7 separate regions of the Homo sapiens genome follow, and all the other regions are linked to region 1. The links are contacts of gene promoters, found by promoter capture Hi-C in human tissues and cell types (Jung and others, 2019). All regions are on one chromosome and are shown on one strand. The core of a region is centred on a gene start or on the middle of the fragment in contact, and the rest is flanking DNA. Distances in the headings are between cores, read along the strand shown. Region 1 holds the start of EXT1 (exostosin glycosyltransferase 1). Region 2 overlaps SAMD12 (sterile alpha motif domain containing 12). Region 3 overlaps LOC105375721 (a long non-coding RNA gene). Region 4 overlaps LOC105375721 (a long non-coding RNA gene). Region 5 overlaps LOC105375721 (a long non-coding RNA gene). Region 6 holds the start of LOC107986970 (a long non-coding RNA gene). Region 7 has its middle 150 kb from the start of SNORD168.

Region 1 (4,108 bases), core at 1,464-3,963:
GGCCAACATGGCAAAACCCCATCTCTACTAAAAATACAAAAATTAGCCGGGTATGGTGGCGGTTGCCTGTAATCCCAGCAATTCGGGAGACTGAGGCAGGATAATCACTTGAACCCGGGAGGTGGAGGTTGTAGTAAGCTGAGACCACACTGCTGCACATTCCAGCCTGGGTAATAGAGCAAGACTCTGTTAAAAAGAAAAGAAAGAAAAAAAAAACTGCTGGCAAGAAAGATATTATTATCCTGACTTTTCAAACGAGAAACTGGAGGTCCACTGAAATTAAGCCACATGCCCAAGGTACTAGTAAATGGCAGATCTGGGGTCTGAATTCAAGTTTTCTCTAATTGTCAGCACCAAAGTTTTTCTGACAGTACACAACACTTTGGGATGTACAAGTAGAGATGGGTAACACTGGGGTCTGGGATAAGGAAATTAGCCATAATTAGGCAAGAAAAGCAGGAAGCACATGCCAAAACATAAACAGAACACAAAAGAGCAAGGAGGGTAGCTAGCTCCCCCTAAGGTCATGCAAAACAACTGGCAAGATATAGAGGGGCCAGGCGAGGTGGCTCATGCTGTAATCCCAGCACTTTGGGAGGCCAAGGTGGGCAGATCACTTGAGGTCAGGAGTTCGAGACCAGCCTTGCCAATACAGCAAAACCCCATCTCTACCAAAAATAAACAAAAATTAGCCAGGGCTGGTGGTGCACACCTGTAATCCCAGCTACTCCGGAGGCTGAGGGAGGCAAATCACTTGAATCTGGGAGGCAGAGTTTCTAGTGAGCCGAGATCCTGCCACTGCACTCCAGCATATATATATATATATATATATATATATATATAGAGAGAGAGAGAGAGAGAGAGAGAGAGAGAGAGAGAGAGAGAGAGAGAGAGCACCTCCAGTCCCACAGCCCCACTTCACAGGGCTGAGATAATCTGCACCCTGATCAGAAGAGAAGGCCTCCTGCCTTGAACTGTTGTTCTTAGCAACTTGGGCTGGGGGGAGCTTTGGGTCACATGTGGTTTCAATCACTGCCTTTATCTGCATCATTGTCACTGTATTTGGAAGATGACTGAATCCTTATTCCTGTCCCAGGCCTCTCTACATTGTGCAGGGGGTTCAAGTCAAATCTGGAAAAGCTGTCTCATCTTTGGCAGGTCAGAAATAGGGAGAGGCTTCACGAATGTATAGTAATGTCCCACCCATGCCCCTTCCCTGCTTTATTAAAACAAATCTGAAACAACAGAGGTCTGAAACTTTCCACTCTATCATTTCATACTGCCTTGTTATAACCCTGCCCTTCATCCACACCCCGCTGGGGTTTTTGCAGCCTGAGGGAAGCCGGGAAGTGTCTGCTCCTAGCTCTCAGTCACTCCCATAATAAACAATCACTAAACAGCCGGCTGCCCTAGGCAACTGTCTAGCTTGCCCGAGCCCTGAGACTTTAGCTAGGCCAGAGGGTGGGAGGTGTTTTCTGTAAAGCAGTGTTCAGGATCTGAGGCCAGGGAGTTTGACTTTGACCAGAGATACTGTTTGGGAGCCTAGCACATCTTTGTGGACCTGGAGGATCTTTAGCGGGACTGCTCCTCGGTTACCTGAGTTATCTAATGAAGTTCTTCCACTGGGAGTGGCAGGAGCTTGGGCCAAGGAGTGGGAGGTCAGTGAGGGAAGGACCAACTATTTGGCACTAATTGTACATAAGGTAGTTTTCCTGATGCAAGTGTTCCTTCTATAGCTGGGACAGTTGGCAATTCTACCAGTCATATGTCCTTAAGAGATATCTTTAACACCACCACCACCACCACCACCACCAAGAGAATAACATCACTTTGAGGACTGGGGCAAGCTTAAATTAACTGGTTTCCCTGCAGCCATTAGAAAATTTATTTTTTCTCTGTGATTGGATCTCTTGGAAGCTTTCTTCATAATAGACAGAGGGGGCTCAGGCAAGGCGGCCTAAGTAGATAATGAGGATTTAGGATAGCCGTCTTACACTCTTAGCACAGAGGCAGGCATGAAGAATTGCAACAATTCCTCTTGATTGTAATAATTCCTCTTTATTGTTGGGCATTGGGGTGTTTCTTTGGTTTAAAAAAATGTGCTATGTAGAGGAGGAGTAAGGGGAGATTGTTTTAATGCTTAGCAGAAAATTGAAATACTGGGTCTCGGAGAGTGGAAGGAGGGCTGGGAGAGGCAGCTTTCGGATCGGCGGTCGCTTTCTATGAAGTCTTCCTTTCCTCCCTGCTTCCCTCCTTCAAAGCATCTTTCTCTAGGCGTTCCGGCAGGCAGCCCAGGAGGCCAGATTCTCCAGGGCGCCCGGGGCCGCGCGGCACGGGGCCCCTGCCGGTGCCTCCTTCCCCGGCCGCCGCGTTTCCGCAGGCGCCTCTGGTCCCCGGCACGGCGCAGGCCGAGATCCGGGCCTGGGCGCGCCGAGGGGCCGCGGGGCTCGCACCGGGCCGTCCCGCGCTCCACCTGCCCGGCAGCCCGCCGGCAGCTTGCAACCCGGGAGCCCCGGCTCCCTGCGCCCCCTACGCCCCCAACGCCGCGCCGGCGCCTCGGCCCGCGGCCGGGGGTTATGAATGGGCGCAGCGGAAGCACCGCCCCCCCCGGACGTGACGCTCGGCCAATGGCAGCGCGGGCTGCGTGGATGGATGAGGTCAGCGCTGTCGTGTCGGGAATGGAATGTGTAAGTGTAACATTCAGAACCGGGTAACATTCGGCGACCGAACGCGGCGGTCGGCAGCGTTCGCGCGGGGGCCTGCGAAGCGCTGCTCGGGGCCGGCACTGCCCGCGGGGAGGACGCGCCGCCGCCGCCACCCAGCGCCGCCGCCGCCGCCGCCTCCAGCCGGGCCGCCGCGCGTCCCGGGGGCCGGCCCCGCGAGCGCAGGAGTAAACACCGCCGGAGTCTTGGAGCCGCTGCAGAAGGGAATAAAGAGAGATGCAGGGATTTGTGAGGTTACGGCGCCCCAGCTGCAAGATGCACTAGCCGGCTGAACCCGGGATCGGCTGACTTGTTGGAACCGGAGTGCTCTGCACGGAGAGTGGTGGATGAGTTGAAGTTGCCTTCCCGGGGCTCATTTTCCACGCTGCCGAGAGGAATCCGAGAGGCAAGGCAATCACTTCGTCTTGCCATTGATTGGGTATCGGGAGCTTTTTTTTTCTCCCCTCTCTCTTTCTTTTCCTCCGTCTTGTTGCATGCAAGAAAATTACAGTCCGCTGCTCGCCCGCCCTGGGTGCGAGATATTCAGCCCCGCTCTCTCCCGTGCATTGTGCAACCCAAAGATGAAAGACCGAAGGGGAGAAAGTTAAAGAAATCGCCCACATGCGCTGGATCAGTCCACGGCTTGGGGAAAGGCATCCAGAGAAGGTGGGAGCGGAGAGTTTGAAGTCTTTACAGGCGGGAAGATGGCGGACTGGAGCTGAAAGTGTTGATTGGGAAACTTGGGTGATTCTTGTGTTTATTTACAATCCTCTTGACCCAGGCAGGACACATGCAGGCCAAAAAACGCTATTTCATCCTGCTCTCAGCTGGCTCTTGTCTCGCCCTTTTGTTTTATTTCGGAGGCTTGCAGTTTAGGGCATCGAGGAGCCACAGCCGGAGAGAAGAACACAGCGGTAGGAATGGCTTGCACCACCCCAGTCCGGATCATTTCTGGCCCCGCTTCCCGGACGCTCTGCGCCCCTTCGTTCCTTGGGATCAATTGGAAAACGAGGATTCCAGCGTGCACATTTCCCCCCGGCAGAAGCGAGATGCCAACTCCAGCATCTACAAAGGCAAGAAGTGCCGCATGGAGTCCTGCTTCGATTTCACCCTTTGCAAGAAAAACGGCTTCAAAGTCTACGTATACCCACAGCAAAAAGGGGAGAAAATCGCCGAAAGTTACCAAAACATTCTAGCGGCCATCGAGGGCTCCAGGTTCTACACCTCGGACCCCAGCCAGGCGTGCCTCTTTGTCCTGAGTCTGGATACTTTAGACAGAGACCAGTTGTCACCTCAGTATGTGCACAATTTGAGATCCAAAGTGCAGAGTCTCCACTTGTGGAACAATGGTAGGAATCATTTAATTTTTAATTTATATTCCGGCACTTGGCCTGACTACACCGAGG
Region 2 (4,108 bases), core at 1,146-3,645, 460 kb before region 1:
ATGATCTCCTTTGACTCCATATCTCACATCCAGGTCACGCTGATGCAAGAGGTGGGTTCCCATGGTCTTGGGCAGCTCCACCCCTGTGGGTTTGCATGTACAGCCTCCCTCCTGGCTGCTTTCATGGACTGGCATTGAGTGCCTGTGGCTTTTCCAGGCCCATGGTGCAAGCTATCAGTGGATCTACCATTCTGGGATCTTGAGGATGGTGGCCGTCTTCTCATAGTTCTGCTAGGCAGTACTCCAGTAGGGACTCTGTGCTGGGGCTCTGACCCCACATTTCCCTTCCTCACTGTCCTAGCAGAGGTTCTCCATGAGGACCCTGCCCCTACAGCAAACTTCTGCCTGAACATCCAGGCATTTCCATACATCTTCTGGAATCTAGGTTCTCAGACCCCAATTCTTGACTCCTGTGTACTGGCAGGCTCTAAACCAAATGGAAGCTGCCATGGCTTGAGGCTTTCACCCTCTGAAGCGACGGCCCAAGCTCTGTGTTGGCTCCTTTCAGCTATGGCTAGAGCAGCTGGGCACCAAGTCCCTAAGCTGCACACAGCATGGGCACCCTGGGCCCGGCCCACAAAACCACTTTTTATACAGCCTACTCCAGGCCTGTGATGGGAGGGGCTGCTGTGAAGCTCTCTGACATGCCCTGGAGGCATTTTCCTTGGAGATGAAAATTTCCTTCCTCGTTAGTTATGCAAATTTCTGCAAATTTCTGCAGCCAGCTTGAATTTCTCCCCAGAAAATGGGATTTTCATTTCTATCGCATTGTCAAGCTGCAAATTTTTTGATGGCCTTATTGATCACTGTCAGCATTTTTGTCAAAGCTGTTCAACAAGTCTCTAGGGAGTTGCAAACTTTCCCACATTTTCCTGCCTTCTTCTGAGCCCTCCAACCTGTTCCAGCCTCTGCCTGTTACCCAGTTCTAAAGTCACTTCTACATTTCTGGGTATCTTTTCAGTAGCGCCCCACTCCTAGTACCAATTTATTGTATTAGTCCACTCCTAGTACCAATTTATTGTATTTATACAATACAGTTTATTGTATTATTGTATGCTGCTGATTAAGACATACCTGAGACTGTGCAATTTATAAAAGAAAGAGGCTTAATGGGACTTACACTTCCACGTGGCTGGAAGTGGAAGCCTCACAATAATGGCGGAAGGTAAGGAGGAACAAGTCATGTCTTACATGAATGGCAGCAGGCAAAGAGAGCTTGTGCAGGGGAACTCCTCTTTTTGAAACCAACAGATCTCGTGAGACTTATTCACTGTCACAAGAACAGCATGGGAAAGACTTGCCTGCATGATTCAATTACCTCCCACTGGGTCCCTCCCACAATATGTGGGAATTCAGGATGAGATTTGGGTGGGGACACAGCCAAACCATATGACCCGGGAATCTCATAACTGGGTATAATATACCCAGAGGAATATAAATCATTCTATTATAAAGATACACGTATGTTCATTGCAGCACTATTCACGATAGCAAGGATATGGAATTAAACTAAATTCCCATCAATGGTAGACTGGATAAAGAAAATGTGGTATATATCCCCATGGAATACTATGCAGCCGTATAAAAGAATGAGATCATGTCATTTGCAGGGACAAGGATGGAGCTGGAGGCCAATATCCTTAGTAAATTAACACAGGAACAGAAAACCAAATACAACATGTTCTCACTTATAAGTGGGAGCTAAATCATGAGAACACATGGATATATAGAAGGGAACAACACATACGGGACCCTGTGAGAGTATGGAGGATGGGAGGGGGTAGAGGATTGGGAAAGATATCTAATGGGTACTAAGCTTAATACCTGGGTGATAAAATAATCTGTACAATAAGCCCCCTGACACAAGTTTACCTATATAACAAACCTGTACATGTACCCCTGAACTTAAAAGTTAAAGTCTCTGATTGCCTGAATAAGGCCCTATGACTTCTGCTACCCTCTAGCGTTGGCCAAGATTTCAGATGGTGTGGCTCTTTCACCCTCCTCTGCAAGCTCTATTCAGGGTCCCTGGTGTAAGCATCAGCTGGCTCCCGTGATTTCTGCCCCATCTCCCTGATCTGGCCCAAACTTGAAGGAAATGGAAAACAGCTTCTTCTCTTTCTCTTTAAGTGATTAGGAACTCCTCACTTAAACTGAAAAATTGGATCACCAGGTGCCAAGTAAAACCTGAAATATTATTTCCAAGGCTGTATGGATTAGAAATCGTTTTCAAATGTTGATTTCACACATACCCTTAGATATATGCTGTATTAGTCAGCCTCAGCTGCTGTAACAAATTACTGGAGACTTGGTAGCTTAAACAAGAGACATTTATTTCTCACAGTTTTGAAGGCTGGGAAATCCAAGATCAAGGTGCCAGCTGAGTCAGTTCCAATGAGGATGCTCTTTCTGTCTTGCAGAGACCACCTTTTCACTGTGTTCTCATATGGCAGAGAGAGTGAGCTAAGGTGTCTGTTTCTCCTCTGTGTGGATGCCATTCTCATCATGGGGCCCTCCACCCTCATTGACATCATCTAAACCCGTAATTACCTCTCAAAGGCCCTACTTTCAAACAACACCTTATTGGGGGTTAGGGCTTCAACCTATCAGTTTTAGGAGGCACAAACATTTTGTCTGACTTATACAGATTAAGTATCCTGTATCCGAAATGCCTGGGACCAGACATGTTTTGGATTTGGGATTTTTTTTAGATTTTGGAATATTTGCATATTCCAAGTTCAGTATCTCATCCAAATGAGATATCTTGGAGATGGGATCCAAGTCTAAGCATGAAATTCATTTATGTTTCATATACATCCTATATATATAGCCTGAAGGCAATTTTATACAATATTTTAAATAATTTTGTGCATGAAACAAATTTTTGGCTGTGTTTTGACTGGCCTATAATATGAGGTCAAGAGTAGAATTTTCTACTTATGGCATGATGTCATTACTCAAAGTTTTGGGTTTTGGAGCATTTCGATTTTGGATTTTTAGATTAAGGTTGTTCAACCTGCACCAAATTTGCATTTTGGCCAAATGCCAAATGGCTGAGTGTTAAATCACTATTGGCTGAAGTTGAATATCACCATCATAAAACAAATATCTTAGTATACAAGAATAAATCTGAACTATTAATAAGAATACCTATTTACTACAACTTAATTAAAATTATACCAAGCAGAATTTTTTAAAATTGGCATTACAGAGCAGTGGTAATAATTTCTCAGCTGTCAGCTCCTGTGGTTGTTCTATTGCGTATTTATGATACTGAAAATATGCTTTTTCAACTGAGGTCAGTGAAGGAGCAAAATACGCTTTTATCAAGCTCTGCTATTACTGTAGTAGTGTTAATGGTGATATTCCCCCCAAGTCAATAAGCTTTCCTCCTCTCCAATAATAACTGACTAAAGTCAATAACTCCTGGACTTGCCATCTTGCTGATGGTCATGATGAAGTTTCATTGAAACAGTCCCATAAATTAAAGCTTTGGATTGTACAAGGTGATTTTTTTAAATTCTCAAAATCAGGCTCAATTTTGTTTTTCTCACTTGAGGGTTTTCTTCTTAAGCAATGTTTTCACAATATTCATTATAAAACATGACCCTCAATTCAGCAACCAGAATGATCTTGTTAATGTGTGAGTCAGATCATGTCCCTCTTCTGCTCAAAATCCTCTAATCACATCCTGTTTTTCTCAAATTAAAGCCAAAGTCCTTAGTGCCCTACCAGATCCTGCATGATCTGTGCCTTGGCAAGTCCCTCCTGTCATCTGCTACTAGGCTTTTCTATGCTCATTGCTGCTCCTAGTTCAAACCAGGTACCTTCCCACCTCCAAGCCTTTATACTGGCTGTTACCTCTGCCTTGAATCTTCTTTCCTTGGGATGCACAAGGTGCACCCCTTCATTTCCTTCAAATCTTTGCTCTAGTATCACCTCCCCAGTGAGGCTGAAATGGTCAGTTCTATTAAAATAGTGTCCTCTCTTCCAAGGCCCCTGATCCCTGATTCTGTCTTGTAATTTCTTTACCCCACTAACACACTCACCACTTTCTAAAACCATACATAATTTATGTTTATTATTATTTTAGGTCATCATCCACTAG
Region 3 (4,108 bases), core at 852-3,351, 440 kb after region 1:
TGGAAATGCTTTAGGAAATGTCATTCTTGTGAGTTTTGGTCAATGTTTCAGGGTTTGTCATTTTTATTAGTCATCAGATGGCTCAGTGTCATTTATGTCAATACATGAGAGTAACTGACCGAGAAAGTTCATTGACTGATAATGTTGATCATTCATACACACACATTTAGACCTCTCTGCAGTAATGTTTTTAGAAGAAAGCTCTCCTTAACTCTCATTTTCAGTCCCTGAGAAGTAACTTGCTCTGGCAGAGTTACATGACCTTTGACCTCCCTGCATGAGGGAAATGAAGAGTGACTTGTATGTGGGTAAACATGTAATAATCCTTTGGTTATGAACTCATCTAGAGTTGACTGGCCAGTGTTTGTGCAATAGTTACACAAGGCCTCAAACACTGTGGGTGTATTGAGAGGTATCTGGGAGATGTAATGTACTTTAAATTACCAAGAAGTAATTTGATCTGAATAAGGCAACTCCAAGGAGAGCTCATTATGTTTTACCAAAATGCAATTGCAAACTGTAATTGGATTTCTTTTTAAGATGAACAGCAAACCCAGGAAAGTGGTGCATTTATCATTTTTGTCAATCCCTTTCTAGAACTGGAACACTAGGGATGATGGCATACAGTGTCATCCCCTTAGGAACAGAGAATATACCATAACTCAGATAAGGCAGGCAGGTATTGCTACCACTCTTCTGTACACAGCAGCCATTAATGGGTTTTTGAGCAAATAAGGCATTATTCAGTGGACACTTTTAGAAGGCTAATCTGGGATCAGTGTTTAGAGAAGATTAGGGGTCAGAAAAAAAATAGAGGAAGATAGACTATGAGATTGTTGTACTAGTCCAAACTTATAATGTTGGGGGTTTGGACCCAGGTCAGGAAGATGTGGGTATGAGTAATAATTCAATGCAAGTGCACCCACAGACCTTAATAACTAGTTGCATATTGGAGATGGTGTGCAATGGAAATAATCCTGGTCTAAGCATCAGGAAGAAGGGAATTTTCAAGGTAAGGTGGAGGCTTAGTTTTCTATTTTGTAAAATGAAAGAATTGAACTAGAATGATCTCTAATTCCTTTCCAGGACTAACATTTTAAGATACAAAGATTGTAAGTCATTACAAGTTTGCCCTCCATTCCCTGTAGGGAGGCCTCACATCAGGAAACAACAAAAGGTTCAGCTCCTATTTGATGTCTCCCTGACTTCTCACTGACACCCAAGCACCCCACATAGATGCCTGGCTAACTGAGGTCCTCAGTTTTACAACCATATTACCCTTTCTGATCTTTCTCTAGAGCCAAAAATTGTCTGTCTTAGATGTACTTATGTTGGTGGATTGTGTCTCATAAACTAACTTGTAGTAGGGGATAAAATAGCCTATAATGGTTACAGCATTTTTTTTCTAGGAGATAATAATATTTTATCTTTGTATAGTCAGTCCAATTTTTAGAAATATTCACATTTCATTTAGATTTTTCAGGAACACTGTAAGGCATATAGACATTGGTGGTATCCTTATGCATTTTTCACAGATGAAGAAACTGAGACTTGGAACAATTAAGTAGTTTGTACAAGATCACACAGCCAGTAAGTGGCAAAGACAGCATGGGATACAAGCTTTCTGACTCCAAGTCCAACGCACTTTCCGCTATATTAGCATAATTGTGAACATTTTAAGTCCCTGGGCAAGAATATAGAGGAAGTACTTTCAGGCCAGGGGCATTTGAAACCATGCAAAGATCACCGTTTGGCCTGTTTTTCTACTTCCAAGCACAGTCCCTGCAACCATCTCAATACTCTGCCTAGTAACCCAGAGCAATAATGGTCATAATTACACTTTCTCTCTGCCCATCCCAAAGAACATTTAGTATATTAATGTTGTTAATTAATCTTCATGACATCCTAGCAAATGAAGCAGATTGCAAGTCGGAAGTCCCACTTGGCTGACTGGGAAGCTGAGGTAGAAGGCAAGGTTACAGAACTGCCTCAAGGTGAGAATAAATCAGCTGGGTTGCTGAGCCAAGAATAGCCTTTTCACAGTGAAAGCTTAAAACTCTATTGGGGAGGGGCTCTCACTATTCTCCTTAGAAGATTACTGTTCAGTCACTAGAAAAAAAAAATTGCCACTTTAAAGCCAAGATTTTCTTTTCTTTATTATTTCTTAATGCTTTTGAATTTGCTGTATCTCTTTCTTTGGGGTTCCCACATTTTTGCAATTGAGGTAGTTCAATCTTTCTCTCTTCTGGGAAAACATGCCTGATTTTTCTGCAGATGACAATCTTCTGTACCCCCTTAGTGTCACCTCCCCATTATCTTCTCTGAGAATGGGTTACACCAATTTTTAACGGGCTCTCAGGAATTTGTCTCATTGGTCTTTCCTTCCCTTACTCAGGGATGTAGAATGGAGCCTTGGCTTTACAGCATACATTTCTACATTGGAAAAGCATTTGTTTCCAATGTTGTATTTTAATGTTTTACTGCATCAGAGAAAAGATGGAGTGACTTCATCTCTCTGTGTTAAAAATGATGACTATGTCCACAACCACGTGGTCAGTCCACATTCTGTGTGGTTTCTGTGGTTACTGCAGCATTTGGGGATCAAGCTGGTGTACCAATGACTGATTACCCTGTGGCAAAGCTGAAGAGGAGAGTGTTGTTTCTCTGTGGCAGGGAGTCCGGTTACACTGGAGGAAAGGGGATGGGATTCCTGTAGGCTGACAGGAAGACTGTAGTTATCTGTGGGAAAAGGAATGATTATGTTGCTCTGTTGTTGGGAAATGTGGTTGCCTTTAACCTTGAGCCTGACCAAAGAATCCTGTAATGATTTACTTTGACACTGTATTTACACCCCCTACAATAATTAACCATCTTTCAAACATCACGAGGAAGTGGGTTATCAAAATAATATTACTCTGACGGTAAAAGTATCTTAAAAGCCCAAGCCACGGAGTTCAGCAAAGACAAAAAGGCCAAACAAAGCCCACACCAAAACATTACCAAAATATTTACTGGGCCTCTTTTCAAAATCATTTTCTGTGACCTTTTTCAAAAAGCTTCATGTGATACAGACAGGTAGTAGAGGCATGGGAAAGAGCCCAAGTTGTTTTTCTGCTCATCTGCTTGCTCAATATTTATCTTCTGTGATTTGGGACAGACCAAATGGTACAAAGAAAGATGAAAATGCTGATAGAGTTCTAGCAGCTTCAAGGGTGGGGAAGGTAAATAGATACTATACATGATGCTGCCGCCTTTCCTGAGTTCACCACACACATCAAGAATGGATCACATCCCTCTTCCCTGCTGAGCCTGTCCTCAGTTTCACAGTCTTTCTCATCAAGGCACTAAACATAGCAACGACCAAGTTATAGGACTTGGTTCTCCAGTTGAAAACCTTTCATAATGTCTCTGTTTTAGAGATGTTTTAGTCCATTCTCATGCTGCTTTAAAGATACTACCTGAGACTGGCTAATTTAGAAAGAGGTTTAATTGACTCACAGTTCTGCATGGCTGGGGAGACCTCAGGAAACTTACAATGATGGCAGAAGGTGAAAGGGAAGCAAGGGACGTCTTATATGGCAGCAGGAGAGAAAGACAGAACGAAGGGGAAGGGCGACACATGTACAAAACAACCAGATCTCTTGAGAATTATATCACTAGAACAGCAAGGGAGAAGTCACAATTTGAGATGAGATTTGGGTGGGGACACAGAGCCAAACCATATCATAGAGCAAGCTGATTAGCTCTGCTTTTCTCCAGAATAAAACCAAAGGTACAGAGAAACATAGTGTGGGTGGTGAGTATGTTGGGTTGGTGTTAATGTAGTTAAGATATTTTCCAAGAGATCTGGGTGAATCCAAATTCTGGGACTGTGATAGAATTATCTCCAAATTTAGGACACTTAAAAATACTGCATCATTAACAAAACAAATGCCATTAAAAACATTAATGTTTTACCTTTTGAATTAAAAGTTTGATAATACAAAGTCTGGAGAGGGTTTGTGGACATGTATCTCATATATCTTGGGAAAGAATTAAGGGATATCATACTTTTGGAGAGCAATTTAGGAATATTTAAAAAATTAAATTCATAAACCATTAGTTCAAG
Region 4 (4,108 bases), core at 588-3,087, 420 kb after region 1:
GTTTAACTGCCCATACTTTAGGGGCAAGTCCTGCCCATTCTCTGCTCTGTCTAGCTTAGGCCTGGGACATCACAATTTTTAGCCTCTGGATTCCAGTGGATATTGCTTGTTCGTCTCCTAGAGAGACATGGAGATACCCTCTTCTACTCCCGCGGGGCTCCTTTCATGGGTTGTACCCAAATCGTTATGTGGTAGCAAGCTGTCTGTAAAGTAAACCGTGTTGTGCTTATAGAACTTTCTTCTCCGGATTCCCCAGCCCCACTCACAGTGCTGTCCTGAGACTTTCTGCAGCAGGTGTGGAGATGACTGATACTGCCATACCTAAGCTGCACCCAACAGCTCTGGGCACTCTGTGTGCAGCTACAGCTGACACAGGTTTGAAATCTGGGCCCAGGAAACCCAGGCTACCCGCACCCCTGCTTGAGGAGGAAACTCACCAGAGATCACATCACCCTGCCCCTCTCCAGTATCAAGAAATATTCAAATCTAGTTCCCAGCTTGTATCTTCCTTTTTGGTCTCGATGGAGAAGGCAGAGAGATAGTGATGGCTTTCCTCTATTTGAGGACTAGACACGCTTTCAGGGAGAGATGACAAACATTTGGGTACCTCTTCTATGTGAGATGGCCCAAAATGACAACCGTAAGCCCTGGAGGAAGGAATAATCAGGCACCGGGAAATGTGTCTTCTGCTTCCTCTCCTCTGGCCTTGGGTGAAAAGACATGGTCTGCTCATGTGGTTTTCTCCCAAGCAAGGGCATAGTTGCCTCTCTAACATCCTCTGGCACAATTGCAGATCGGTGTCTTGAAGTCCTGGGGCATGGAACTGAAAAACACCACAGAGGACAACTTATACATGCCACAAGATTTTTTATTTGGCATCCTTCAATGAACCTTATTCCTAGCCTGCTCTTATGGAGCCCATGGTAGGTTCCCACCACACAGGGAGGAATTCAGATATCACCCATCCTTGGAGTAGAAACCAAACTGGTTCTCGGTGCCAGAGTGGGGCAGGAGATTCTCCTTTGCCTTGGCCTAGGACCTCTAACTGGAGTGTAGCTATTCCCTTTCCAGGTTGAAAAATGCCTGGGATGAACTACAGTGGCAATGTCCATTCCCTTCTGAAGAAATCCCACCTTCTCTTGTAGCTGTATGATCTAGCCCTATGGTCAGACAAGATATCTCACAGCCACCCAAAACTGGCAAAATTCTCAAAGTCTAAATCAGTCAGTCTTATGCAGTGTTACCCATGGTCATCTTTCTAGATAAATGTAAAGACCTCTGCTTAGTGCCAAGATCATAATTCCCAAATTGTAGCCATTACCATTGATTGTCATTGTGATGATGATGATGATGACGATGGTAACTGCTACACCACATCCTGGTTTTAGGCATTATGTACCTGCCTTTGCCATTCGTATCTATTTTCCCTTCTATGCACCTAGCCTTTTAAATTCCAGAATGCTACAAGGCCTGTTATGGCCATGTTACCATGCTCTGGGACTTATTTTCCACATTTATAGAGAGTGTTAGAATATACACATTTTAAAGTCCCCTGCTATGTTAGCATTCTGTATTTCCAAGATTAATTTGCATGCAACTTAAATTTTTACCTATTTAAAGAGGAAAATTTTCCATTCACCTTGGTGACTGGGAGTCCTGTTATTTCCTTGACTGATACAATAGACTCTGCAGATGCACTGCAAGTATATAAGCATCAAGCAAATATATATTTCTAATGAATTATTTACATTGTGTGTAAGCTTTAGTGCAAGTGGTTTTGTTGAAATGGAATTACAAGTCAAAAATCAGTGCTAGACAAAGAGGAAAATCTTTCTCCACTTCCAGTTAGTTGGAGAAAAATATTACTGGGGGAAAGTGGAGGTTTTAAGGACTTTTGCCTGAAGGGAGGAGAGGAGGCCTGAAGGTATTTCGGCAAAGAGAGAGAAAGAAACTAATCTATTCATAGGGCATGGAATAAAAGAAAAATTAAAATGGAGAGAAAGAAGAGGAGATTTTGTTTACTTGGGTGGGCTCTGTGCAGGCTCTGTGCAAAACAAAGCAAAAGCCTAGGGCTCTCCCTGTTTCACTTACAGGCCAGGTGGAGCCTGTGTTAATGCCCAAGAAGAGTATTACGCACTTCATTAAGGAAGTAGACAAGAAACATTATGAAAATAATAATATCAATGAGACATAAGTATAGCCAATATTTATAGAGTGCTTACTGTATGTCAGGTCTTGAATAGAGTGCTTTATACATATGACCTTGTTTAATCATCCCAACATGTGGATGTAAAAGGTAACAGTATCACCTCCCCTTTACACGCAAACACACTGAAGTGTACAGCTGTCAACAATTTGCCCAAGGTCATGCAACTATTAAATGTTAGAGCTGGGATTCAAATTAAGGTTTGTCTAACTTCAAAGTGCTATACTAATTCTGATGCACTAAAATTCTTTGATTTTCATTTTAGTTCAATTCTTTGATTCTGATGTACTACATTGATTCTGATGTACTACATTGATTCTGATGCACTAAAATAAATACTTAAATAAATAAATAATCCAAATGTCCAGAAACAAACTAAGCTCTAAGGATATATTGTATTAGCTGAGCTCTTTGGTTGAGGTGAGCCTAGCTCATAAGCTTGAAATGTTCCCTCTTCAGAACATGGGCCATTTACACCCTCCAGACTTTCTAGAGAGTCAACCCATTTTCTCAGAAGTTGACTGCATTTCCTTTCCTGTCTAAGAATTGTAATTGGGATAACTTCATCACTGGTAGCTAAACCTTTGGAGTCACATGAATATAAAGAAATGTTATGACCCAGTGTGATGACTCACACCTGTAATTCCAGCACTTTGGGAGGCCAAGGCAGGAGGATCACTTGAGCCCAGGAGCTTGACGTTATAGTGAGCTATGATCATGCCACTGCACTCCAGCCTGGATGATAGAGAAGGACCCTATTTTGTATAAAAAAAAATTGATGTGTGATTTTCAGAAGAGGAAAGGTTATCTTTTTATATTTCCTCCCTCTCTCCCTTTCTTTCTTCCTTGCCAGTCTAAATAAAATCTGCCATTTGCCTCTCATGTTCCCCAAAGTCTTGCCTTTTGGAAGAAAAAAATGCCTGTCAAGTTTTACCCCAAAAGATATTGGAAGGCAAGTTTCAAGCCACCAAACCTGATATTATTTCCTGTGAAATAATTGCTATTAATTGGGCATTTTTATGCATTGAACATTGTACTTAGCAGGTACATTATTTCACAACACCTTTGTGGGTTGATGCTGTTATTACCCCTAGTTTAAGTGCTATTATTATTTCTAGTTTTAAAGACAATACACTGAAGTTTAGAGAGGACAAGTCACTTGCCCAAGATCACACAGCTAGTAAGTGGTAGAAGGAGGACTGAGCCTAAGCCACCTAATCCAAAGACAGTGCACTTAATTATAACACCGTATTGCATGTTACCAGTAAGACAGCCAGTCCTGACAGACCCATAGGAGACATGGACAGTGATCTACCACTGGGTTTCTATTCAATGTTTAATTCTTTGTTTAATTCTCTTTGTTTAATTCTCCCATCCATCCATCCAAAAATATTTATCATGTACAAGCCATTTATCTTCACTTTAAATAAGCAGAGAAATCAACTGCTTGGAGTTTCACATCCTCTTAATATTCCATGGTGTTTCTAAAAAGGATGGAACTGGCCGGGTGCAGTGGCTCACACCTGTAATCACAGCACTTTGGGAGGCCGAGGTGGGTGGATCACCTGAGGTCAGGAGTTGGAGACCAGTCTGATCAACATGGTGAAACCCCATCTCTACTAAAAATATAAAATTAACTGGGTGTGGTGGCATGTGCCTGTAATCCCAGCTACTTGGGAGGCTGAGGCAGGAGAATCACTTGAACTCAGGAGGCTGAGATTGCAGTAAGCCATGATCACACCACTTTAAAAAAAAAAAAGGATGGAACTGAAGAAAAGGATGAGCTGAAAGAGAAAAGTTGAAAGTCTTGTTTCTCCAAATAATTAAGGTAGTGTGTGGGCATAAGCGGCACAGATTTAAGGGGCTGGGCAGAGCTTTAAAGGTAGGGTCAGAATGATGCGT
Region 5 (4,108 bases), core at 521-3,020, 410 kb after region 1:
TTCTAGATGACGGGGGCCTGCTAAGATTCATCTATCTATCAATCTGTAAGCATTGACTGAGGTACATGCATGAATCAGTTACTGTGGACACAGAGCTCATTGTGACACAGTTTTTTTTTGCCTTTGAAGACATCACAATTTAGGAAGATGTAGAAACCAATCTCTAAAGTCCACTTTACTTCTAGAGTACAGAGTATGATGCTTCATGGTTAGAAATGACTTCCAAAATCAGATAAAGATACAAACATCTGATAAAAACGCCTAAAACATGGATCTTATTCTTAATGAATTTGTTAATATAAAGAGGAAGGGCATAGGGATGAAAACCCATGGGCTAGAAAACAGAATGGGGTTGGAACCAAACAACAGATGGTCTAGTCAGCTGCTATGGAGCTCAGACAAGGGAGAGATCCCAGAGAGCTATCATTCAGCAGGGAAAGCTTCATTGACAAGATTGGCTCTGGAAGGGGCTTTCAAGGCTAGATTGGATTCTGGTTGGTTGCCTAGGTGGGAACTTTAAATCTCTGGGTAGGCGGGCCAGTAAGAGGGTGAGCAGGCAGTGCCGACCAAGCAGATTAGCCTTGCCTGGTGGCTGGGATCCCTATGGGGGAGGCTTAAAAAGTGCCTAAGGTAAGGATTTGTCATTAACAATGCCTGGATATTCGAAGATCTCCTAATGCCTCTGTATTAGATCAGATTTAGTTTCATCTGAAACAGCAAAGACTCAAGTATCTGTAGTTTAAGCAAGAGAAACATTTCTTTCTCTCTCAGATAGCTGAACATAAGCATTCAGGGGCTCACATGATTTCTCCATGGTTCGGGGAGTTAGGTTACTTCTATGATCTGAATGTTGGTATACCCCCAAAATTTATATGTTAGAACCCAATACACCAGGTGATAGTATTAAGTGGTCAGGACTTTTGGAAATGATTAAGTCTTGAGGGCTCCATCCTCATGAATAGGATTAGTGCTTTTATAAAAGAGACTGGAATGAGCTTCCCTTAACTCTTTCACCACATGAGGACACAGGATGAAGATGTCACCCATGAAGCAAATAGAGGGCCTTCACCAGATACTGGACCTGTTTGCACCTTGGTATTGGACTTCCCTGCCTCCAGAACCATGAGAAATACATTTTTATTGTTTATGAATGACATAGTCTGGGGTAATAGTGGCAATAATATTGAGTATTACTAATACTTAGTAATAGACTGAGACATTCCTGCACCAATTCCTGTCAAATTCCTGAGACCCTGGTTATAGCAGCAGGAAGGACTAAGCTACTATTATCTTGTTGTCTGCTTTCCAGAGGTCAGTGCCCTTGTCCACATTGTCTAAGATGATTAGCCACTGTGTCTGCGTTTCAGATACAGGAAGTGGGAAAGAGAAAGACACACATTCCTCCCCTATAAAGGCAGGACTTAGATGTGCATTCATCACTACTGTTCATAATCCGTCAGCTGGAACTCAGTCACATGACCACAGCTAACAGCAAGAGGGGCTGGGGAATGTAGTTTTATTCTGAGAATCCTTGTATTAAATCTCAGGGATTTCTAGACTGGAGAAAAAGAGAGGCATCAATTTCAGGACACAACCAGTCTTGGTTACAACCTCTTCTTCCAGGGAGCTGTTGAAGGGTTGAAGACCAGGGAGTCTTGAAGATTAAGAAACACATGTCCCAAGACTCTTAAGAATGGCTAATCCACTTCTTTCTTCCAGCTTCACACATTAGCTACATAATGAAATTAGGGGAAATGTAAGAAAAATAGAGATGATTTTTGCTGAGCACTGTTTCAGGAACTTTCCACAGCAATTTAATCTTCACAACATCATGATGAAGTAGCCATTATTATTGTCATTTTAAGGATGACGAACTGAGATTCAGAAACAGGAGATAAAGGTGAGAAACTAGCATCTTTGACTCATTAGAAAAGCCAGGCACTTTATATCCATTAAATATGCCAAGCATTTTATGTTTAATAACTCATTAAATCCTCATGATTCAATCAGATAAATACGATTTCCTTCTATATATGGGGACATATAGATAAACCTAGAATTTGGATCTGGGTCTAATTCCAAAAGTCAAAATATTTTCATTGTACAGATGTATTACTTATTGCTACTGTCAGCTACAAAGTTTTTTGGTATGGGTTGATTATTTTATTTACTCACGAGTTAACTAATTAATTAATTTTAACGAAGAATTTTTAAGCACCCAGGAGGTGTCAGGCACAAGTTCCTGACCTCTTAGAGCTCACTTTCTAGGTGAGGAAATATTCATTTATTGAAAAACAAACACTTATTATATGCTTCTTATGACCAAGACCTGGTATTACAAAGACAAAAAAGTATAATGATTGCCATACAATAGAAATCAATAAATATTGAGTTAATTAAAAACATAGCCCTTGGGAACACCACAATCTATTAGTGGTGGGATGCAGAACAATGTGAATTTGGGAGAGGATGGTTTGAATACTGTGCTATATTGGCTACAGCCGCCTATCCAAAGACTGTCTTTGGAAGAGCTGAATATGAAGGAACTGTTCTTCCCTGAGCTCCCTGTGAGTAGGATCTGCTTTGTAAACCAAGGACATGCAGAAGCGTGGGAGGAAGCAGCACCTGAACCTGGAGCCAGTGACTAGGAGATGAGCTCAGTCCTTGGCCAAGCCTGCTGCAGGTGTTGACTTTTTCTGCTAAAAAACCTGGTCATGACTTCAGGGTGATGAAGGGCAACTTGAGAAACAGACAAAAAGGCAAGAACTCCTTAAGTACATCTGTGTTAAATAATTTCTGGATTTGGTAATGAACTCAAGGTGTTTCTGAATCAGGTGAAAATGGGGGAAAATGTTGAGGAACACTTTCTGTTTATGCCCTTTTAGTTTCTCCCCCACCTCCTATCTCCCTCCAGGGTACTTCTGATCACACATGTAAGACTTATCTATGCTGGAGCCAAGGGTGATGATGGCTTTGTGACGGAGATTTCTTAAAGGAAGATACGAATTTTAATGTCTGGATAGGTGCTCAGATGGAAAAGGGTCTGAAAGGAGAGATTGCTGAAATAGAATGTTTCTAGATTGAAAAATGCCCTGGAAGGGAACATGGGAATCTCACCATTCCAGGCACCCCCATGGGGCTGCTGGGCTTTTTTTGTGGCATGATTACCATCTCCATTCGTATCTTATGGTTGGGCTGTTGATAGTTGTCAAGAGAATCTCTGATTCAGAGAGAGGAAAAATGGAGGGTAATAGCAGTTCTTTTTTGAACTGGGGCTATCTATTAACCTACCTTCTAATGGGATTGTATATTGGATTGGGAATAGCAAAACATTCTTTAAGTATAAGTACTTTTAGTCAGTGTGGGTACACACCCCCATAGTGGCATCATGTGTGGAAGTTCTTTAGGGGGAGAGAAAAAGATTAAAACCAAGACAAGCAAAGTAATCAATTCAAATATTTACATCCAAAATCAATGTTACTATTTACTTCATTACCTTAGAAAGCTGCACACTGATTCCAGTGGAGCTACCACTTAAGAAACATTTTTGGACTTTCTTTCTCATTTGTTTTTCAAAATGCCTTTACAGTCATGGTCTGTGTCCTTCAATAAAGTACTTCTCATTGCTTTTCAGTTGTTCTTTGTTTTAGAAATACAAAAGGTGGTAAAAGAATTAGAAAAAAAATAGTTGATATCTTAACATGGAAAGAAATTGCATTCTTTTAAATTGTAGAATAAATAGTTTTTGTAGAAAATTTGGAAAATAATAATTAATACAAAGAGGAAAATAAGAATTTTCCTATAACCCCATCACACAAAGAAAAACACTTTCTTCAAGGCTTTATAATGCACACATATGTGGCAGGTTTGTTGACTTGTTTTCACTGCTTAAGTGAGAGAGAATAAAATGATAATTAATTTCCCTACTTCTCTCATTTCACCCTTTTCTTTTCTATCCTCTTCTCTCAACACATGCACATACCTCTGGGAAAAAAAAATTCAAAAGCCACTCATGCCTTTGAATTCTAAGGTTTAAGCTCATCTGTGTGTGGGTTTGTGTGTGCCTCTGAGTATAAGTGGGCAAAGGTATATGGATTGGATTTAAAGG
Region 6 (4,108 bases), core at 807-3,306, 370 kb after region 1:
TAATTGTTTTGGATATAAACCATTTTATCTTCTCAAGAATTCCAAGAGGTAGGTGCTATTATTGTTATTATTATTGTTATTATTGAGAGGGAGTCTTGCTCTGTTGCCCAGGCTAGAGTGCAGTGGCACAATCTTGGCTCACTGCAACCTCCGCCTCCTGGGTTCAAGTGATTCTCCCACCTCAGCCTCCCCAGTAGCTGGGACTACAGATGTGCACTACCACGCATGGCTATTTATTTTTATTTTATTTTTTTGGTATTTTTAGTAGGGATGGGGTTTTGCCATGTTGGCCAGGCTGGTCTCGAACTCCTAACCTCAGCGGATTCACCCACCTCCGCCTCCTAAAGTGCTGGGATTACAGGCATGAGCCACCGCGCCCGGCCAGGAGCACTGGACTGCAGACCAAGAGGTAGGTGCTATTATGAGCACCACTTTACAGTTAAGAAAATTAAAGTTTAGAAAATTAAAATAACTTGTCCAGGATCATACTGTTAATAAATGACAGCATCAGGATTTGAATTTAGAAAAACTGGCTTCCAGCTTCATCCATGTCCCTACAAAGACATGAACTCATCCTTTTTTATGGCTACATAGTATTCCATGGTGTATATGTGCCACATTTTCTTAATCCAGTCAAAAAACCAAACACCACATGTTCTCACTCATAGGTGGGAACTGAATAGTGAGAACACTTGGACACAGGAAGGGGAACATCACACACTGGGGCCTGTCGTGGGGTGGGGGAGGCGGGAGGGATAGCATTAGGAGATACACCTAATGTAAATGATGAGTTACACCAATATGGCACATGTGTACATATGTAACAAACCTGCACATTGTGCACATGTACCCTAGAACTTAAAGTATAATATGAAAAAAAGAAAGAAAAACTGGCTTCAAAGCCAGTTCTCTTACCCACTGCTGAAGAAGGTCTCAGGTTCAGGACCCAATTCAAGAAGCAAGGAAAGATCATCCGTCAGAAGACAGACTAGAAGGTTAAAAGCCAGGAAAAATAGTGCAGGAAACAAGAAATGAGATGAATTAGAGTGAATAGTTCAGGACTATGGCATGAATAATGCAAAACATTGAAATATGGTCCCGTTTTTTTGAACCCAAGTGTGTGGTAAGTTTGGAGGGAAGCAGTCAGTCCTAATGGCTTAAAGTTGCTTCTAGAGCTGGATCGTCTCTGCCCTCCTGCATGTAATGATCTAGCTATGACAATGAGAATTATAGGGCTGGGCATTGTGGCTCACGCCTGTAATCCAAGCACTTTGGGAGGCCGAGGTGGGAGGATCATTTAAGCCTAGGAGTTTGAGACGAGCCTGGACAACATAGGGAGAACTCTTCCCTACAAAAAATAAAAAAGTTCACTGGGGATGGTGGTGCATGCCTGTGGTCCTAGCTACTTGGGGGAAAGAGGTAGAAGGATTGCTTGGTCCTGGAAGGTTGAGGCTGCAGGGAGCCGTGATCACACCACTGAACTCCCTCCAGCCTGGATAACAGAGTGAGACCCTGTCTCAAAAAAAAAAATTGTATAGGGAAAAGATCAGTAAATTATTTCAGAAAGCAGATACTCTGGATTACATGGAGACTGTATGAGAGGCCTTTTTCTCAATTGCCATAACTCTGTTTTATAGAGATTGAGTTCACAGGCAAAAACTGGGCAGAGCCTTCCCCAGAGTCTGAAGTTCTGAGTGCCAGCGGACATCTGTCCCTGTAGTCTATGGAATTGTCTTTATGAGCAGCACTTTGAGAAAGCTGGACAGAGTATCGCTGGCTTACTCAGCTACAGTATGCCCAGTGGTGCTAGAAGAGGAGATTTTGCAGCCGGTTTGCATTGATACCTGACCTTGGCCCTTGGATACTATTCATGTGGGCCTTTCCCGAGAAGGCTTGTTTCCTTACTGTATTTGGCTAAGACAGCGGTCCTGTGGGTGGCTTCAGTATTATGTTTGGAACAGGGGAAGTATTGCAACACATGCCAAGAATTGACTTTTATTTTTAAAAGCTGCTTTTTGCAGAATCGAATATCTGTGACCTTCTTTGGTTACAGCAGATCTACACATGGTAATTGGCTTAAGGTCAGTGTCTTGGGCATCTTTTAGTGACAGGTATACACTTTATAGGACTATTCTCAAGAGGTACCACTTCCTTTCAGGACCACTTTACAATTTCTCAAACTCTTCATTATGGTTCTCATCTCTGCCCTTGTTTACACTGATTTGCTTTAGTGTCATGACAAGCTTTGTGCTCAAGATAGATTGCTTTGCTTTAGGAAAGAGGTGTATTTTGTCGTTTCACACTCCAGTGTCCTGTTCCTGCATGTGAGCACCAGGATCAAACAGTTCAAACATAAATCTGGGAGGTGGGGTTGATGGAGCAAATCAAGACCACCAATGTCTTGCCCTGTGCCTTGAGAAAGGCATTCACTTATCCTCTGCTTCAGGTGCTCCTTGGTAACCCAGGATGAGGGCATTCCCAAAAAGATCGGATGAGAGAATTGATGCATGACAAGACATTGGAGAGGTCTGGATAGATAAAAGCCTAGAAACTCCAGTGACACCATTACCTTCCAATCCCACTGGTCTCCAGTCTTCTCTTAATTGCTTAGTTGCAACTATGCCCTGATTTGGAGGGGATAAGTGTACTGGTAACCTAGAGGACACTGAGAGGGAATCCAGATTTCAAGAATTCAAAAGCAAAAGTGACCCAGTGGGTATCAGTAGACAATGGATATTTGTTTTCCCACTGCAGCATGGGGATCTTGATCTAGCTCAGTGAAGGTCATAGGCAAGATCAGTGTGCTAATGTGAGTGAGGCATTAGGGAAGTATGAAGTAGTGTTGTACTGCCTGCAGGTGGTCTACTTTCTCCTTCCTCAGCTCTGGCTCCGGAAACTGGAGGCATCCCTCTCCATCCAAGACTGGCCTGCCAAGCTGCCTGCTTAGAAGGACTTTGGAAGCAAGACAGAGCAGTGTCTTCATCAGATACCTGCCAAGGCAAGTGTTGCTCAGGATTGCCATCCAGTTGGCTATGTCTTCCTTTGAAATGTGCTTTTAGTTAGGTGATTGATGTATTTGATTTTTGACTTTGTTTAATATTGGGTATTAACTCAACGTTCTGTCTTGTGAGCTGTCAGCAGTTGAAGCAGTTTTGGAGGGAGGTTCTCAGAGTAAAGACTGCATCTCAACCTTTCAGATGTCTCTTCTTACCCAAGGGATTGAAAGGGTGAGGGATGTAAGGTGTAAAGAGAGGCCCTCTGACTCTTCCCCTAAGGGGTTAAATCTTACAAAACTTTCAAGGGATATCAAGGGTACTTTAAATTGATTTCAAAAATATCACCAAAAGGTAGAGCCCAAGAGAGCATTGTGCTCTGAGACACAAAATCTTATTTATCCACAGAAGGCAAAGGGATGCATGCGTGTTGTGTGAGTATGTGTGTGCAGCTTCCAGCAAGGAAAACGTGAGGAGAAAGGTGACAAATGAAGATTCCAGAATTCACTGGAAGAAAATTCCTGTTCTCTTTTCCCAAGACCGAACACAGAGAACTCATGAGAGATAAGGCATGTACGTTGAGTTCAAGGTCAAGAGAGATGGGACCAAAAATGCAAAGATGCAAAGATGTGGTAGAAAAACAAGAAACAGTAAGGTAAAAGTACCACAGCTCAAAGTAAGATAGCAGGTACCAGGAAAAACAAATCGCCATGTCTTCAGAGCTATCCTGGCCTCTGAGGGAAGCTCCTCTTCTACACCAAGCTCCAAATTGTATCCTCAAGGATAAATGCTGATAATGGATTAAGGTCAAGGCCATTTACTGTGCCACAATGCTAGAGGCTTGAACATCTTTGCTAATAAGTAAGGGGCATCCGCCCTGGGTCCCAAGTGGCAGCAGTTTCTCTGGAGTCCTTTGTCATCTCTTGGAGCATTCTTTCTCCTTCTCTCTTTCTTCCTCATGACAGGTGCAGAAATAGGCTCCATGCTGCACCTGCTTGATAGTTACTCTGCTCTAGGGATGCCCTGCAGTTGCCCACTAGACCAGCTAAAAAGGGCAAATGCTCTCTGGCTTGCTTGACCTTGGTGGGATTCTCCAAGGACTCATTTCCCCTCAT
Region 7 (4,108 bases), core at 563-3,062, 340 kb after region 1:
GAGTATAGGCACTGGCTAAATACTGCCATTCTGAAAGGGAGAAATCAGCCAAAACAAAAGGGCTACAGGCCCCACACAAGTTTGAAACCCAGCAGGGCAGCCATTAAATCTTAAAATTCCAAAATAATCTCCTTTGACTCCATATCTCACATCCAGGCCACACTGTTGCAAGGGGTGGCCTACCAATGTCTTGTGCAGCTCCACCATTGTGGCTTTGCAGGGCTCAGCTCCCATGGCTGACCTCAAGGGCTGGCATTGAGTGCCTAAAACTTTTCCATGGTGCAAAGCTGTCAGTGGATATACCACTCTGGGGTCTGGAGGATGGTGGCCCTCTTCTCAAAGCTCTACTAGGCAGTGCCCCAGTGGGGACACCATGTGGGGGCTCCAACCCCACATTTCCCCTCTGCACTGCCATAATAGAGGGTCTTCATGAGGACTCCACCCCTGCAGCAGACTTCTGCCTGGACATCCAGGCATTTCCATACATTCCTCTGAAATCTAGGCAGAGGCTCCCAAACCTGAACTCTTGCCCTCTGTGCACCTGCAGGCTAAACACCATGTGGAAGCCACCAAGGCTTACAACTAGCACCATCTGGAGCAATGGCCTAAGGTGTATCTTAGGCCCTTTTATCTATGGCTGGAGCTGGAGTGGCTGGGTTGCAGGGATCAGTGTCCCTAGGTTGTGCAGGGCAGCAGGGCAGCAGGGCCTGGCCCACAGAACCATTCTTCCCTACTAGGCCTCCAGGCCTGTGATGGGAGGGCCTGCAGTGAAGGTCTTTGTAATTTTCAAGGAATTTTCCCCATTATCTTGGCTATTAACATTTGGCTCCTCTTTGCTTGTGCAAATTTCTGCAGCCAGCTTGAATTCCTCGCCAGAAAATGGGTTTTTAATATTCTACCATATGGCTGGGCTGCAAATTTTCCAAACTTTCATGTTCTACTTTCCATTTAAATATAAGTCCAGTTTTAGATCATCTCTTTTCTCACACATATAAGCATACACTGTTAGAAGCAGCCAGGCCATGTCTTGAACACTTTGCTGCTTAGAAATTTCTCCCACCAGATACCCTAAGTCATCTCTCTCAAGTTCAAAATTCCACAGATCTCTAGGGCATGGGCATAACGGCTGAAATCTCTTTGCTAATGCTTAACAAAAGTGACCTTTGCTCTAGTTCTCAATGAGTTCCTCACCTCCATCTGAGACCTCATCAGCCTGGACTTCATTGTCCATATCGCTATCAGCATTTTGGCCACAACAATTTAACAAGTCTCCAGGAAGTTCCAAACCTTCCCTCATCCTCCTGTCTTCTTCTGAGCCCTCCACACTCTTCCAACCTCTGCCCATTACCCAGTTCCAAAGTTTCTTCCACATTTTCAGGTACCCTACTCTTGGTACCACTTTTCTGTGTTAGTTCATTCTTGCACTGATATAAAGAACTACCTGAGATTGCATAATTTATAAAGAAAAGAGGTTTAATTGGCTTGTGGTTCCTCAGTGTGCACAGGAAGCATGGCTGAGGAGGCCTCAGGAAACTCACAATCATGGCAGAAGGTGCAAGGGAAGCAGGCATGTCCTATATGTCTGGAGCAGAAGGAAGAGAGAGAAGGGGGAGGTGCTACACACTTTTAAACAACCAGATCTTATGAGAACGCACCCACTATCACAAGAACAGCAAGGGGGAAATTTGTCCTCCATGATCCAATCACCTCCCACCAGTCCTCTTGTCCAACATTGGGGATTACAATTTGAAATGGGATATGGGCAGGGACATAAACCCAAACCATATCAACATAAAAGCACAGAAATATATTTAAAATGTTCAATATTTCAATAGATACTATTTTATGTCTGCTTTTGGGGATATTCTACTCTATGTCCATCATTGTCTTTAATTACAATCTTTACATCCAGGGACACTCTGTTATGTTCATTCCATGCAGGTCCCATTCCTGTTCTTTGAGCACACCAGGCAAGCTTCTGCTCCAAAGCCTTCACATTTTCTGTTTCCCTTGCCTTGAGTACTCTTACCTCAAGATATCTGCATGGTTGGCTCTCTCACTTCTTTCAGAATTTCACTTCAAGTCATCTTTTCAATGAGTGCTTTCCTGACCACTGCATCTAAAATGTCAAACCCCTTGAGCTAACACTTCCTTTCCCTTTCTCAGATTTTTCTTTTCTCTATTGTACTCACCACTACCTAATATATTACAGATTTTTCTTCTTAATCTTATTGTTTTCTCCTCTAATAAAATGTAAGCTCTAAGATAGTGGGGGTTTTGGTCTGTTTTGTACATCCATTATGATGTCTCTAGTGCCTGTAGCAGTAATAATACCCCACTCAATAAATATTTGTATAATTAATGGATAAAATGAGTTGAATACAGTGGGAAAGCTATGGTTTATAATTGAAAAATAGAGATGTTTGTGCAACAGCAGAAAGGTAATACTTACTGGATTTTCAGAAGATGGATAGATCACAACTGGTGAATATGTCCTCCAAGGCCATAACATAACAGCTGGATCTAAGAGGATAAATGGTAGGTGGAAATGGAGATTTGAGGGATTCCAGGTACAGAGTAACTCTTGGATAGGAATCAGAGAGGGAAACGTGGGGTATATATGGGGAATTTTGAGAAGTCTTGTGAGAATGAGAATATTCAGGGGAGAGTTAGAAGATAAGGCTGGGGAAATCAGAACACAAAAGTTCTTAAATCTAAGACAGGGATTGTGATGTGTTTTTGTAGGGAAAGTGGACTTTTAAAGTTTTTCAGTAAGCAGGGAAGTGACAGAATTGGAGCTGTGCTTTATGAAAATCAATTCAGCGGGCCGGGCGCAGTGGCTCATGCCTTGTAATCCCTGCACTTTGGGAGGCCGAGGCAGGCAGATCACAAGGTCAGGAGATCGAGACCATCCAGGCTAAAACAGTGAAACCCCGTTTCTACTAAAAATACAAAAAATTAGTGGGGCATGGTGGCGAGCGCCTGTAGTCCCAGCTACTCGGGAGGCTGAGGCAGGAGAATGGCATGAACCCGGGAGGCGAGCTTGCAGTGAGCCGAGTTAGCACCACTGCACTCCAGCCTGGGCGACAGAGCGAGACTCCATCTCAAAAAAAAAAAAAAAGAAAATCAATTCAGCAATTAATAGAGTGGTTGGACAGCATAGGGGCAGGAGATGAATAGGCCAGTGATGAAGCCATGTTAATAATCCAACAAGAGTTAATGAGGGTCTGAATTAGGCTGACAGCAAATAGAATGGAGAGGAAGAGGCAGAAAGAAAAGGAGTAAAGGAGATAGAACTGACAGCTCTTGACAGCTGATCAGAAATGGGGGATAAGGGAGAAGAAGTCACATGTAACCGTGAAGCTTCAAGCTTGAGTATCTGACAGATGATGAAGACATTAACAAAATAAAAGAATTGAGGGGGAGAAACTGCATTGAGGATGGAGTTGGGATTTAGGTTCTTGATTGGATTTGGGATCCCTTATAGCACGCTTTGTCTTTGAGGGAGGCTTCACCCCTTCTTCCTGGGCCATTTTCCTCTGCCCTGTGGAAGCCCACGCTTTCTAGTCTAACCTGATACTGTCAGTGCTTAAGTGCTGTGGTGTCTCTATGGAGCAATCCCAGTGGGCTTTTCTGGGCTCTGCCATAAGATTTGGTGAAGCCTGAGTATGGTTCTAATTTCTTCATTTGTCTCTATTGGTCTCCTGCTGCAAAGCTAAAAACGATAATGATTCTCTGAGCCAAAGGATCAGGATCAATTGCCTGGAAGGCTAGGCTCAAAGAAAGCAGCCTCCAGTGCCAAGACATCTGTAGGTAGGAGCTCCAGCTTCCCCGGCACTTCTCCACCTAGTCCCTAGGGGATGCTCCACAGCTGAAAGCACCAGGTTGGCAGTCATGATGACTTACTCTTGAGAATGCTTGCTTATAACTTACTGAGCTTTCATTAAGTGTGATGTACCTACTTTAATGAGCAGCAAAATACCGTTTGTAATAAAGCAGTGGCTTTTAGTGTTCCTGGAGTAGTCCCAGTTACATTTAATGTCCTGAAAGTTGGAACGAGGGAGGGGATGATTTTCACACAGGAGGACATGGCTTAATGTTAGTAACT

Evidence for each region. Contacts are between HindIII fragments. The study calls those that stand out against the background at their distance.
Region 2: a fragment that was not itself captured here is called in contact with the fragment with the promoter of EXT1 in region 1 in 2 of the 25 tissues and cell types used here (adrenal gland and dorsolateral prefrontal cortex).
Region 3: a fragment that was not itself captured here is called in contact with the fragment with the promoter of EXT1 in region 1 in 2 of the 25 tissues and cell types used here (liver and mesenchymal stem cells).
Region 4: a contact is called between a fragment that was not itself captured here and the fragment with the promoter of EXT1 in region 1, in 3 of the 25 tissues and cell types used here (adrenal gland, heart left ventricle and lymphoblastoid cells).
Region 5: a fragment that was not itself captured here is called in contact with the fragment with the promoter of EXT1 in region 1 in 1 of the 25 tissues and cell types used here (aorta).
Region 6: a contact is called between a fragment that was not itself captured here and the fragment with the promoter of EXT1 in region 1, in 1 of the 25 tissues and cell types used here (dorsolateral prefrontal cortex).
Region 7: a fragment that was not itself captured here is called in contact with the fragment with the promoter of EXT1 in region 1 in 1 of the 25 tissues and cell types used here (heart left ventricle).

The regions. Positions count from the first base shown.
Region 1 is chr8:118,110,431-118,114,538 of GRCh38, reverse strand. It overlaps EXT1 (exostosin glycosyltransferase 1), which reads left to right and starts at 2,713. Exons shown (of 11, transcript NM_000127.3): 1 at 2,713-4,108. The coding sequence starts at 3,493. RefSeq lists silencers at 2,291-2,670, 2,771-2,860. The HindIII fragment of the contact is 7,998 bases long and covers 1-4,108 here.
Region 2 is chr8:118,568,025-118,572,132 of GRCh38, reverse strand. All of the region lies in intron 2 of SAMD12 (sterile alpha motif domain containing 12), which reads left to right. Among named protein-coding and RNA genes, the nearest start is that of SAMD12-AS1, 51 kb to the left of the region's middle. The HindIII fragment of the contact is 5,474 bases long and covers 1-4,108 here.
Region 3 is chr8:117,668,414-117,672,521 of GRCh38, reverse strand. The region is part of intron 5 of LOC105375721 (a long non-coding RNA gene); the gene reads left to right. Among named protein-coding and RNA genes, the nearest start is that of MED30, 150 kb to the right of the region's middle. The HindIII fragment of the contact is 3,719 bases long and covers 242-3,960 here.
Region 4 is chr8:117,686,592-117,690,699 of GRCh38, reverse strand. All of the region lies in intron 4 of LOC105375721 (a long non-coding RNA gene), which reads left to right. Among named protein-coding and RNA genes, the nearest start is that of MED30, 170 kb to the right of the region's middle. The HindIII fragment of the contact is 4,702 bases long and covers 1-4,108 here.
Region 5 is chr8:117,704,156-117,708,263 of GRCh38, reverse strand. The region is part of intron 3 of LOC105375721 (a long non-coding RNA gene); the gene reads left to right. Among named protein-coding and RNA genes, the nearest start is that of MED30, 190 kb to the right of the region's middle. The HindIII fragment of the contact is 3,619 bases long and covers 1-3,579 here.
Region 6 is chr8:117,737,104-117,741,211 of GRCh38, reverse strand. LOC107986970 (a long non-coding RNA gene) reads left to right here and starts at 316. Exons shown (of 2, transcript XR_001746051.1): 1 at 316-409; 2 at 2,882-4,108. The HindIII fragment of the contact is 4,228 bases long and covers 1-4,108 here.
Region 7 is chr8:117,765,209-117,769,316 of GRCh38, reverse strand. No RefSeq gene overlaps it. Among named protein-coding and RNA genes, the nearest start is that of SNORD168, 150 kb to the left of the region's middle. The HindIII fragment of the contact is 3,110 bases long and covers 258-3,367 here.